Linked DNA regions of Homo sapiens: region 1 is linked to region 2. The links are contacts of gene promoters, found by promoter capture Hi-C in blood cells and fetal thymus (Javierre and others, 2016). All regions are on one chromosome and are shown on one strand. The core of a region is centred on a gene start or on the middle of the fragment in contact, and the rest is flanking DNA. Distances in the headings are between cores, read along the strand shown. Region 1 has its middle 29 kb from the start of KDM3A. Region 2 holds the start of REEP1 (receptor accessory protein 1).

Evidence for each region. The method cuts DNA at HindIII sites, captures the fragments that hold promoters and counts their contacts. A CHiCAGO score of 5 or more calls a contact.
Region 1: a fragment that was not itself captured here is called in contact with the fragment with the promoter of REEP1 in region 2 in 1 of 17 cell types (total CD8 T cells); the score reaches 5.7 in total CD8 T cells.

Annotation. Positions count from the first base shown.
Region 1 is chr2:86,409,329-86,415,610 of GRCh38, reverse strand. No RefSeq gene overlaps it. Among named protein-coding and RNA genes, the nearest start is that of KDM3A, 29 kb to the left of the region's middle. The HindIII fragment of the contact is 200 bases long and covers 1,348-1,547 here.
Region 2 is chr2:86,333,851-86,340,081 of GRCh38, reverse strand. It overlaps REEP1 (receptor accessory protein 1), which reads left to right and starts at 2,456. Exons shown (of 9, transcript NM_001371279.1): 1 at 2,456-2,603. The coding sequence starts at 2,572. The HindIII fragment of the contact is 12,312 bases long and covers 395-6,231 here.

The sequences.
Region 1 (6,282 bases), core at 198-2,697, 77 kb before region 2:
GGTGTTTTAAGCCAAAAAAAAAAAAGATATCCCAGTTGAGCCTTTTCGGTTCCCCCTCAAGAAAATCCTAACACCTTAAAAATATTTTGTCTTTTTTTCTGTATAGCTGTAATAAAAAAGAACTTTTTTTCTTCTAGCAAGTGAATAATATAAATAATAAAGACTGTCATTCATTCATGGTTTGTAACATAATTTGTAAGCTTTATCTTGTGGAGTCTTCAAAATAGCCTTATAAGATAGGTGTAATTATTCCTGTTTTTCTGATGAGAAACTTGAGGCTTCGAGAAGTTAGGAAACTTACCTAAGAGCATGGAGCTACAAAGGAGGAATTAGTGTGTCTTCAAGTTGGTGCATGTGTTTACAGGTCCTGTACTGTTTATGACTCTCAGAGTGAAAAGGTGCCTGTCATCCATAGAGATTATTGACTGCTGCAGCTGCCGCTGGGCACATGCAAGGGGTGAGGGGGCCTCCTGGCAGGCTCTGTTGCTTTGACAGATTTGGGCTGCCAGCTGCTTATTATTGCAGTGTGGTTCCTTTCCTGGAGAAGCTTTCCGGGGGCTCCCACTGGGGGGTGGGGGCTGGGGTCCTGCTCCCTTTCTCTGCCCCCATCCAGGACCTCCTTTCAGTTCCCTGTCGTGGCTACTGCAACCCTAAATTCCTTCTTAAACACTCACCCTTAAATATTTTTCATGTGCATTTTGTACCTCATTAAGGATTTAATCTGAAGTATTTTTGCCTTTGTACCTTTGTGTTGTCTTAGTATGTTTTTTTATTCTGACATTGTATTATTTTATTCACCTTTCAAGTTTTGCTATTTTCTAATTTTATCTTTCCAATCTTTTCATATTTCTGTTTTGAATGTTTTCTTCCTAAACTTTTTATTTTGTATGCAATTTGAACAATTGCATACAATTATTTCTAGCATTTTGTTTTATTTTTAATGTTTTTGGGGGGCTGTTTTTCTTTCTTTAATCTTTTTCTTTTTTCACCCTGCTATACTTTAGCAATCACTATTTTATCTTCAATATTTTTGATCTTCTAGTTTTACTTGTTTCCGTCTTTTTAAAAAATTATTTATGTTTTAAATTATTTAGCTTAGTTTTATAGGCCATTTAAAGAACTTTATATTTAGCTTCTTTATTTTTATTTATTTTATAATTTCTGCTCTTTGCCTTTTATTCCCTTTTATTAACTGAGCATGGCATACTGGCTTTGGGATTTATTTAAAGGTCATTTTGGTACTTTTTGTTGCTGTTCATTTTCATATTTTATATGATTTTAAATTCTTTTAAAAATAATTTTATACTTAAACTGTGCCATTAATTTTCCCAGATGAATGATTAAGCTTCTGGTTTTTCTGTTTTGAATTTGTTTCATGCCTTTGAACCATGATTCTTTCCTTCCTCTTTTTATTTTTTTACTTTTTCCCCTTAGAAACATAGCTTTTCATCTTAATAGTTTTATCTATTTCTTCCTATTCTTAAATTTGACTCTTTACTGTTTGTTTTCATAATGGTTATCAGGAAGTTGGTGGGAAATTGAAAGCTTCGGGAAAAACTCATCGTAAACTGGGGAGATTTATTTGCAGCTATGGCTACAGCTGTCTCGCTGGCTTTTCTTAATAGATTTCACATGCTCTTCAGCACTACTGAAAAAACTTGAAAAGAACAATAAGAGAAATAAATCACCCTTCCTGACACGAGAGACTTCCCGGCTGTGGAGACCTCCTCTCATTTGCCAGAGCTGCGCTGTCGCTGTCCTTCCACTCCTTCTCTCCACCCTCCTAGTGTTCCCACCCCTCCCAAACCTAGGTCAGGACTAGCCCTCAGAACTCTGTATGGAACCAATGAGTTGCATCTCTGGAACTGCATTCTCTGCTAAGCCAGTCTTCCTAGCCTCAACCTCTTTCATCTCCTGGCCTTAACTGCAACCCTCTTCTGCTGTAGCATCTTGAGTTGGGGAGTTCATTTTCATTCTTCATCCTAGAGGAAAGGCCAGTGCTCTTTTTAACCCAAACCTTTCCACCTTTGTGTAAAAACACCTCCTCCTTAGAGACTGGTTCCACTGGCTTGTATCACCTTCCCTCCTTATTCTCACTCATCCACATTCCAGGAAGAATTTAGTTCCTGCTTGACAGTAGTTCTGCAATCATCCCAGGTGATTTCATTGTTGATGTGGATGACCCAATGACTCTTGATTTCCATAGTAAACTCCCAGACTGGTCAATTTTCCTAAGGTTTTTCTAACCGTTAGCTTCTCTAAGGGTGGCTTTACTTAAGATCCATCTTCTTTTTGGCATCTGTGTGGGTGGAATCTTCTTGCCTTATGTTACTGGCATGGATTATTGAGTGGAAACCTTGCAACATCACTTTGGAGTAGTTACTTTTATTAAAACCTACTTTGCAGATGAGAAAACTGAGGCTGAGACTCTAGGAGGAACCATTTGGCAACATTTATCATAATGTAGTAAGCACTTACCCTTGACTCTACAGTTCCATCTTAAAGACTTTGTCCTCCTGGTCTACTCAGGCTCATGTGCACATGCTCAGTGACTTATGTAAAGACGTTCACTATAAGACTAAGAGACTGGTTAAATAAAGTATGATACAACTCTGGGATACTATGCAGCAGGGAAAAAGAAAGGAAGTAGCAGGGAATGATTGTCAGGCCATATTATTAAATGGAAAAGCCAGTGTAAAACAATGTGTATCATTTACTCCAATTGTGTTTTTTTTTTTAAAAAAAAACACATCTGTGTTTTGGCCAGGTGTAATGGCTCACACCTGTAATCCCAACTCTTTTGGAGGCTGATGTGGAAGGATTACTTGAAGCCAGGACCTGAGCAACAAAGTGAGACAACCCTTCTCTACAAATTTTTTTTTAGGCCAGGCGTGGTGGCTCACACCTGTAATCCCATCACTTTGGGAGGCCAAGGCCAGCAGATCATTTGAGGTCAGGAGTTTGAGACCAGCCTGACCAACATGGTGAAACCCCATCTCTACTAAAAATACAAAAAAAATTACCCAGGCGTGGTGGTGGCTGCCTGTAGTCCCAGCTACTCAGGAGGCTGAAGCAGGAGAATCACTTGAACCCAGGAGGCGGAGGTTGCAGTGAGCCGAGATTGTGCCACTGCTTTCCAGCCTGGGTGGCAGAGTGAGACTCCATCTCAAAAAAAAAAATTTTTTTTTAAATTAACTGGGCATGGTGGCACATGCTTGTAGTCCCAGCTACTTGGGAGGCTGAGGCAGGAGGATTATTTGAACCCAGGAGTTCAAGGCTGCAGTGGGCTATGATCACACCACTGTGAGAGAGAGAGAGAGAGAGAAAAGAAAGGGAGAAGAAGGAAGAAGGAGGGAAGGAACAAAGGAACGAAGGAAGGAAGGAGAAGGAAGGAAAGAAAGAAAGAAAAAGAAAGGAAGAAAGAAAGAACGAGAACGAAAGAAAAGAAAGAAAGAGGAAGGAAGGAAGAAAGGAAGGAAGGAAGGAAGAAAGGAAGGGAGGAAGAAAGAAGGAAAGAGAAAGAAAGAAAGAGCAAGCAAGCAGGCTATTTTAGAAAAGAAAATAGACTACTAACTTCAGCTGAGCCCAGCTGACCTACCAGTTCATCGCCTACCCCAGTCTATACCATGTGGAGTAGAAGAATTAGCCAGTCAACCCATGCCATGACGATCGTTGGAACAGAATTTATGACGGAATTGTCAGAAATAATAAATTATCATTTTTAAGCCATTATGTTTAGGGGTGATTTGTTACATAGCAATAGATACCTGATACACTCCTGTACTCTCAAATGCCAGAGAGGTGATATGAGCCTGTGTATTCCATCTGTATATTCCATCCTAGTTCACCCCAGGTGAATGTCATAGCAATTTCCATTCTTAGAGTCTGCTTCCTAGAACTGATTTCAATACCAATCATCAAGTTCCCTGGAAGCGGAACCTGAGATGGAATTATTGAGGGCATGTGATTTGTTAAGGCCACGCCGTCAGAAGAGAGGGAATGAGGAAGCTAGATAACAGGGAGAAGGAGCTAGGCAAGGATGTGGTCTCAGCCTGAGCAGCCTGACCACTCAGGAACCTCTGAAGTGTGAATTGTACTACAGTGCTGATCCTGCCTTGAGTCAGGAAGCTGGCTTTTTTTTTTTTTTTTTTTTTTTTTGAGACAGGGTCTCACTCTGTCTCCAGGCTGGAGTGCAGTGGCGCGATCTCGGCTCACTGCAGCCTCCACCTCCCTGGTTCAAGCGATCTTCCTGCCTCAGCCTCCCCAGTAGCTGGGACTACAAGGACGCATCACCATGCCCAGCTAATTTTTTGTATTTTTATTAGAGACGGGGTTTCACCATGTTGGCCAGGATGGTGTCGATCTCTTGACCTTGTGATCTGCCCACCTCGGCCTCCCAAAGTGCTGGGATTACAGGCGTGAGTCACCGTACCCAGCCGGCTTTTTAAAGACATCTTTATTGAGATATACATATACCATACAATTCACCCATTTAAAAGGATACACTTTAATGGTTTTAGTATATTTACAGACATATGCAACAATCACCACTATTAATTTTAGAAGATTTTCATCACATCAAAAAGAAACCCTGTACCCTTAATTATCACCTCCCTATACTCCATCCCTTCCAGCCCTAAGCAACCACTAATCTACTTTCTGTCACTGTAAATTTCCTTACTGTGAACATTTCATATAAATGGAGTCATACACAATATGCAGTCTTTTAAGACTGGCATCTTTCACTTAGCATAATGTTTTCAAGATTCATCCATGTTGTAGCATGTATTTCATTCCTTTTTGTGGCCAAATAATATTCCTCTGTATGGATATACCACATTTTATTTATTCATTCATCAGTTGATAGAAATTTGGGTTGTGTCTACCTTCTGACTGCTATGAAGAGTGCTGCTATAAAAATTTGTATGTTTGTCTAGACACAGGTTTGCATTTCTCTTGTGTATATATTTAGAGGTGAAATTTCTTAGTTATATGGTAACTCTCTGTATAATTGTTTGAGAAAACTGCCAGACTGTTTTCCAAAGTGGCTATACCATTTTACATTCCAATGAGCAGCATTTGAGAATTCTGATTTCTCTAGATGCTCCCCAATACCTGCTCTTCTCTGGACTTTTGATTCTAGACATCCTTGTGGGTGTGAAGTGGTATCTTATTGTGATTTGATTTGCATTCCCCTGCTGACTAATGATGTTGAGCATGTTTCTAAGTGCTCATTAGCCATTCATATATCGTCTTTGGAGAAATGTCTGTTTAGATTTATTGCCCATTTTATAATTGGAATATCTTTTTATTATTGAACTGGAGGAATTCTTTATACATTCTAGTACAAGTCCATTATCAGACATATTATTTGCAAATATGTTCCTCCATTCTGTGGGTATTTTAATTTTCTTGATGGTGTCCTTTGAAGCACAAAAGTTTTTCATTTTAATGAAGTCTAATTTATTTTTTCTTTTATTGGTCACACATTTGGTGCCATATATAAGAATCCATTGTCAAGTCAAAGTCATGAAGATTTACCCCTATGTTTTCTTCTGAGAGTTTTTTGTTTGTTTGTTTGTTTGTTTGTTTGCTTAACAGATGGGATCTTGCTTTGTTGCCTAGGCTGGAAAACATGATCATAGCTCACTGCCACCTCGAACTCTTGGACTCAAGTGATCCTCTCACCTCAGCCTCCTGAGTAGCTACGACTACGGGTGTGTACCACAATGCCCAGCTAGTTAATTTTTTTTGTTTTTGTTTTTGTTTTTGTAGAAAAGGGGTCTCACTATGTTTCCCAGCCTGGTCTTGAACTGCTGGCCTCATGCAATCCTCCCATCTTGGCCTCCCAAAGTGTTGGGATTACAGGCATGAGACAACATACCTGCCTGAGAGTTTTATAGGTTTAGCTTTTACATTTAGGTCTTTGATCCATTTTGAGTTAATTTTTGTATATGGTGTGAAGTTAGCATCCAAGTTTATTCTTTTGCATGTGACTATGCAATTGTCCCAGCACCATTTGTTGAAAAGATTATTCTTTCCCCATTAAATGATCTTGGCACTCTTTTCAAAAATCAGTTGGCCATAGACATATTTATTTATGGACCGTCAGTTCTATTCTATTGATCCCGATGTCTATCCTTCTGTCAGTGCCACACTGTCTTGATTAATGTTGGGTTTTGTTTTGAGGCAGGGTCCCACGCTGTCAGCCAGGCTGGAGTGCAGTGATGCAAACACAGCTCACTGCAGCCTCAGCCTCCTGGGCTCAAGTGATCCTCCCAC
Region 2 (6,231 bases), core at 1,207-3,706:
TTGTGAGAAATATGTGTTGGTCTCACTAGTTTTCTGGTCCTCTTCAGCTAATGAAAAGACCTCAAGATATTTTAACCCCATGAATAGTTTCATTTTGGTAATTAAAATGCTCAGTCCTGTGCAATAGTCAAATCTGAGAATTCCACTTATAGGGAGTAGGGAACAAGCATGTGGTCACCTCTTCTTTATTTTCCCACCAACAGGGTCTCTTTGAACCACAGTAGTCCATCCCTCCGCTGCTCCCCCTGCAAGATGGGTAACAGCCTTTCTGACGCAGGGAGCATAGGTGAGGGGTATGGATGGAGGGGAAGGGAGGTCTCAGGAAGGTCCTCTGTGCTGGGTGCTGTCCTGATCTAGCTTTGGTGTTCTCTTTGCCTAGTAAGTATGGAAAGCTTTTCCCCGTGGAGCATTGTTTTACCCGTATAACCTTACCTTGAGTGAGATATGGTGGGGCCAGACACAGATCAAGAGAGAGAAGCTAGAAAGAGTTTTAGAGCTTTTTATATCCACAGTTTCCTGGAGAGATCACAGCACACCATGCAGGTCCACTCAGGGCCAGGGTCTGTCACAGAGAGAGGGAGAGAGGGGAATTGTGGACAAACATCTTTATCATGGTTTCTGAGGGAAGGAAAGAGTGAAATAAGGCAAGCAGATATAGGATAGGCTAATTTGGATAATTTCAGCGGGTTCTGAAGTACAGGGGCTGTAACTAGTTGTTTGGTGCCTAGCCCTGGACAGGTGTATAGTGTCCCGCGTGTGAGAGCCTGCTAACGGAAGTGGTTGGGGGTATGCAGTTAATAGACTGCTGGAGAAGGGGAACTGACCAGCCTCCAGCCTGAGCCTCAAAACTGGGTCAAGGCAGCATGAAAAAACTGCTACATTACAGCTATTTTATGGGTTCTTTGGAGACCTGAGATATGAGAGCATGTCTCATCTGCAGTCCCTTTGTTGTCCGTGAAGTCTTTCTTCTGACTATATCAGGCACACGCACGCACAGATTCTGCTACATCTGAGAGTACTAAGCTGTCTCCTGCGCTTCTCACATCTGACACTGAATTATACATGACACCATCATCAGCAAAGGACAGGGCGCTGGGAGCACCACGCAGAACCTAAGCTATTGGAGGGTGGGAAAAGCAGCAGCAGAGCCTAGGAGTAGAGGACAAAGCGTTTCCAGTGTAACAGAATAATGTACTATCTGCGGCCGGGACTAGGGTGAGCAGAGTGAGGCGCTCAGTGAGGGTGCAACATTTAAGAGGTGCCATAAAATTCAGCAACTAAAATACATAATAGGTGGCTCACTCCTGTAATCCCAGCACTTTGGGAGGCCAAGGCGGGCGGATCACGAGGTCAGGAGTTTGAGACCAGCCTGGACAACATGGTGAAACCCCGTCTCTACTAAAAATACAAAAATTAGCTGGGCGTGGTGGCGCACTCCTGTAATCTCAGCTACTCATGAGGCTGAGGCAGAAGAATCGCTTGAACCCGGGAGGCGGAGCTTGCAGTGAGCCGAGATCGCGCCACTGCACCCCAGAGCGAGACTCTGTCTCATAAAAAAACAACAACAACAAAAAAAACCACCATAATATTTAATACGGTATTTTAAAAAATACATAAAAACGTTTATATAGGGTGCACAAGTTCCCTTTTGCCTAAGAGTTCAACGTGGCTCAGCGGGGCACTGGTGCTAAGCAGTCGCAGCTTCTAGTCTCCTCCTAGGGCCCGGAGCAGCCCCCAAGGAAAGGCCTTCCCTAGGAAGAAGTAGCCCTTCAGCCCAGCCTAGAAGAAGGAGCTGAATCAAACCAAGGCAGGACGATGAGGCGTGGCGTGTACTGACAGGGAAGAAGAAACAGCAAATATTTGAGTCCAAGATGCCTGGAGGGAAAAGAGCTAGAGGACTATTTGGGGGAATGGTCTTGGCAACACGGTTCTAGGCAGGTACCACGATCATATAGGGACTCTGTAGAATTTTAAGTAGGGAGGCAAGCGCCCAGGTTTGTTTCTTATGCAGAAAGTGCTGAGCAACGGACAGACTGAAGAGGTTAGGTCTGGATCCAGGTAAACCCTTTATGAGGCTAACGCACTAGCTGAATGAGGGATGACAGCATCCCACCTAGACAGGTGCAGACAGATTCCCGAGGTTCAGGTTCGGACTTCAGTTTCTCCGCTGGAACGCTGAGGGTGGGGCAGCACCCGGGTCCCTGCCCTGCAAACGGGGCCGCTGCAGGGTTCCTTTGGCGGGGCCGGTGCCCCGGGGAGCGCGCAGGACGCGCCCGCCTTCAGCCGGGGGCCAGGGCGAGCGGGACGGGGCGGGCCCGCGGGTGCCCTGACCAGCTCACCGCCCAATCGCTGCGGGCCCGCCGAGCCCCGGGGGGCTGGGGCCGCCGCCGCCGCCGCCAGAACGTGCCGCGGCTGCGCCAACGCGCGAACGCCGGGCAGGGCGGCGGGCGCGCTCAGTCTGGCGGCGGCTGCCGTGAGCTGACTGACGTTCCGGGAACGCCGCAGCAGCCCGCGCCGCCCGCAGCCTAGCCGAGCCGCGCCGCCCGGGCCTCGCCCGCCCGCCTGCCCGCCATGGTGTCATGGATCATCTCCAGGCTGGTGGTGTAAGTGGCCTTCTCCCCCGCGCCCCTCCGTCCCCTCCCTCCCCGCCCCCGGCCCCGGGCTGCGCGCGCCCCTACAGCGCCCGGTCCCAGTGGCTCGGGCTATTAATACCCGGCGCAGCTAAATTTAGCAGGTACAGTAGCCGCCGAGGACGCCTGCGGGCGGACGGGCGGCGCAGGACGCGGCTGCTGCCCAGGAGGCAGCCGGCGCCGGCGGCCGCTTGCGGGGGGCTGGGCCGGGACGGCGAGGGCTGGGGCGCTCGGGGGTTCCGTGGGGGCTGCGTCTCGCCGCGCGCTGGCCGCTTTGTTCCTCAGCTCGGTCGATTTGCAGAGGCCCCGAATGGGCGCACCGCGGACACGCGTCTCTCTCCTTTGGCAGAAATGTGAGGTCGCCCGGCGCCGCGCCCCGCCGCCCCAGCTTTTGTCAGGTGGAAAGGACAGCGCAGACGAACCAGGGGCGCTGCCTGGAGGGTCAGCGCGGAACGGGTGGAGAGGCAGAGGCGGGGCTCCCAGTGGGGTTGGAAAAATCCTCCTTTTTAGGTGTCTGCATCGACAGCGGCAAAGGCAGCTGGGACATGGGAAGACGCATGTGAATCTTGGAGTAAACGCCTGGAGCCCCCGGCTCCGACTCCTTTTGCAGGGGATTGAGAGACAGGGGCAGGTACCTCCAGGAATGCACGGGAAATTTTCAAGTGACAGCCACCCGCATGGTGGCGATGACACCTCCCAGGCCTTGCAGGAGAGCGCAGAGTCATCTAGGGTGAGGTCTGTGTGAAGTCATTGGGGGTGGGCGTGGGGGCCGATTTTCTCCTTCAAGCCCCAGGACCTGTAGGCGTTTGAAGAGCTTCCCCGGTGGATTTATTCTCCTTTGGAGATAGACGTGGCTGTTCCAAGTCCCTGTTCTTCCCTAACCATCCTGGCCTGAGTCAGAACAGATTTGCCACCTGCTGTAGCTAGCAGGGGCTGAAATGGGTGTGGGGAGTCTAAGGCGGGGAGGAGGGTGGCAGGCACCTCGGGCTTTTTCTTTGTCTGAGAACACGGGGCTCTGGACCCCAGTGATTGTGCACCATCACTCCCCACGTTTTGAAACACCACCCATCTCCCTTCCCTTCTTTACTGATTTTCCCTTCCGAAGTGGATCTCAGCATTGTCTCCCGCCACCATTCAGGGCTTTCCTCCCAAAGCCAGTGTCTGTGCCTCTCAGCCCCCAAGTCATTCCGTGAAGGCCTCTCCACAGCTGTTCCTGACTGCGGGGTGTTTGCGCTGCACCTTGAGGTGGCATGTTAAATATTTAGAAGATTTCTGCTGGCAGAGCCGACATGAATAATACAGGAAAGTGGCTGACACGCCTTGCCCAGCCTCATGCCTGACCAACACTGTCTTGCCTTCAGGGTGGTGTTTCCTCTCTGGGATCGATATTGCCAGTGGCTTCTGGGAAGCCCTCAGGGTGGGGCTGGAGAGTTGAGCTGGCCTGGCTGGTGGGCTCTCTGTAGGTCCTGCTGGGCTGGGAGTGAGGGCATCTGATCCTGGGTCATGTGACTATCATTAGTTTTATTAGCACTGGGTCATGTGACTATCATTAGTTTTATTAGCACCTCCCTCACCCCTGCCCTTTTTTTTTTTTTTTTTTTGAGACCGAGTCTCGCTCTGTCGCCCAGGCTGGAGAGTGCAGTGGCACAGTCTCGGCTCACTGAAGCCTCCGCCTCCTGGGTTCAAGCGATTCTCCTGCCTCAGCCTCCCGAGTAGCTGGGATTACAAGCGCCTGCCACCACGCCCAGCTAATTTTTGTATTTTTAGTAGAGACGGGGTTTCACCATGTTGGCCAGCCTGGTCTTGAACTCCTGACCTAGTGATCCGCCCGCTTCGGCCTCCCAAAGTTCTGGGATTACAGGCGTGAGCTACCACGCCCGGCTCCTCCCCCTTTTTTACAATGAGCAACTGATGGGGGTGGAGAGGAGAGGCATATATTTGGGAGGTGTCTCAGGGATGTGCTGTTGCTTTCTAAAACAACCACACTCCCTAGAACCGAGACTTCAGAGAATTTAAATGAACAGCATTATGTGGCCCAAGGAGAGTTGATGGGATTTGGGATTGTTACTTCCACTATCAAGTCCAAAAGGTCAGGGATACCACTTATCCCCCAGTCCCTAATTCCCTGTAGAAACCTAGCATAAGCATATTGATTATGAGTTATGAACATCATTTTTAATAAGCAATACCTGTTTCATGAAGACAATATTTGTTAATTACAGGAAAATTAGAAAAGATAAACTGAAAATCATCCACATTTCCACCACACAGAGATAACTAATAATAATGATGGAGGGCATATTCTTCAAGAAATTTTCCTGTATTGCATATATGTACATATATTTGTAATTCAAGGATATTATTGATTCAGCCCAATATTCTACACTCCACATACCTTGAGGAACTTCTTATCAAGGGGAGGAATACTGTGTTTGGAGTCAGAACGCCCATGGTTCAAATCCCAGTTTTGCCTCTTGCCAGAAGATCCCAGTTCACAACTCAGATCAGAGCAGATGCTAGTCCACAGCTAGTTAACCTCATGTTGCTGTTGCAAAGATTTCCATGACACTTGATATATAAATTGCCAAGCACCACGGAGAGCACTAAATCAATGATGAGTCCCTCCTTCTGTCCTCCCCGGGAACCCTATGAGAGGGGCTCTCAGACTTAATTTACTCCTGTGGTTTTCAAACTGGGTTCCCTGAGGGCCACCCAGCCTGAGCAGATGGGCTCTGGGCTCCTCATCCCTGATTCAACCCAAGCAGTTCCCTTTTTGTTTGTCTTATATATTGGGGTTCTAGATAAAATACAATTCAGAAAAATATATGTGTTTTACTGCTAATAAAAACAACTGATCTAGTCCTCCCCCTCATCTGTAAAACTGCAGAGGAAATATGCCTTGCTCAGGGACACAAGATGAGCTGGTGAAGAAAACAGGCTCTGGATTTTTAGTCCAGTCCAGTGCTTTTTCCACCTTCACTCCCCACTGAGAAAAACATCTCTTTCAAGCTCCCTAGACCTCTGGTATGGGAGCATCCTATGGTTTTATCCGCGAGTCACGTTTTGTATAAGTAATCTTTTCATGGTTTTGTAAGCCTCTGTCACATCAAAGAACATGTAAGGAAGACCTATCACTGTGTTGTGAGGATAGAGAGGGAGTGTCTTCCTGTCTTTGTGTGGTCCCAACCATCCGACCAGAGGTATCACAACAAGCTGATGGCCTCCAGGGACAGCCAGCCAGTGCTCGTGGTTGTCTCTGCTGCTACTGGCCGTGAGCATTTTGAAGAAAGCAATTGTGGCTTGTTTCCCTTTACAACCGCTTTATCCCTGCCATGGGTCTTTCACAAAGTATCTGGCACCTGAATGCACTGAGTGAAGGTTGGTTGTGTTGAAGGAAATCCTAGGCCCTGGGGACAAGCAGAGTGGCTGGCTACTGCTGTCCCCTGGGGACGGAGGTCAGCAGGCATCAAGACAGGCTTGTGCCCACGGGCAAGGCTCTTAGAGTGAGGACCAGTTTGAGATGCTTATTTCTTGCCAGCTCTCTTTCTCCTAACTTCCTTGGCTCAGCCTGTAAAGAATTAAGGAAGAGATACTCAGTGCA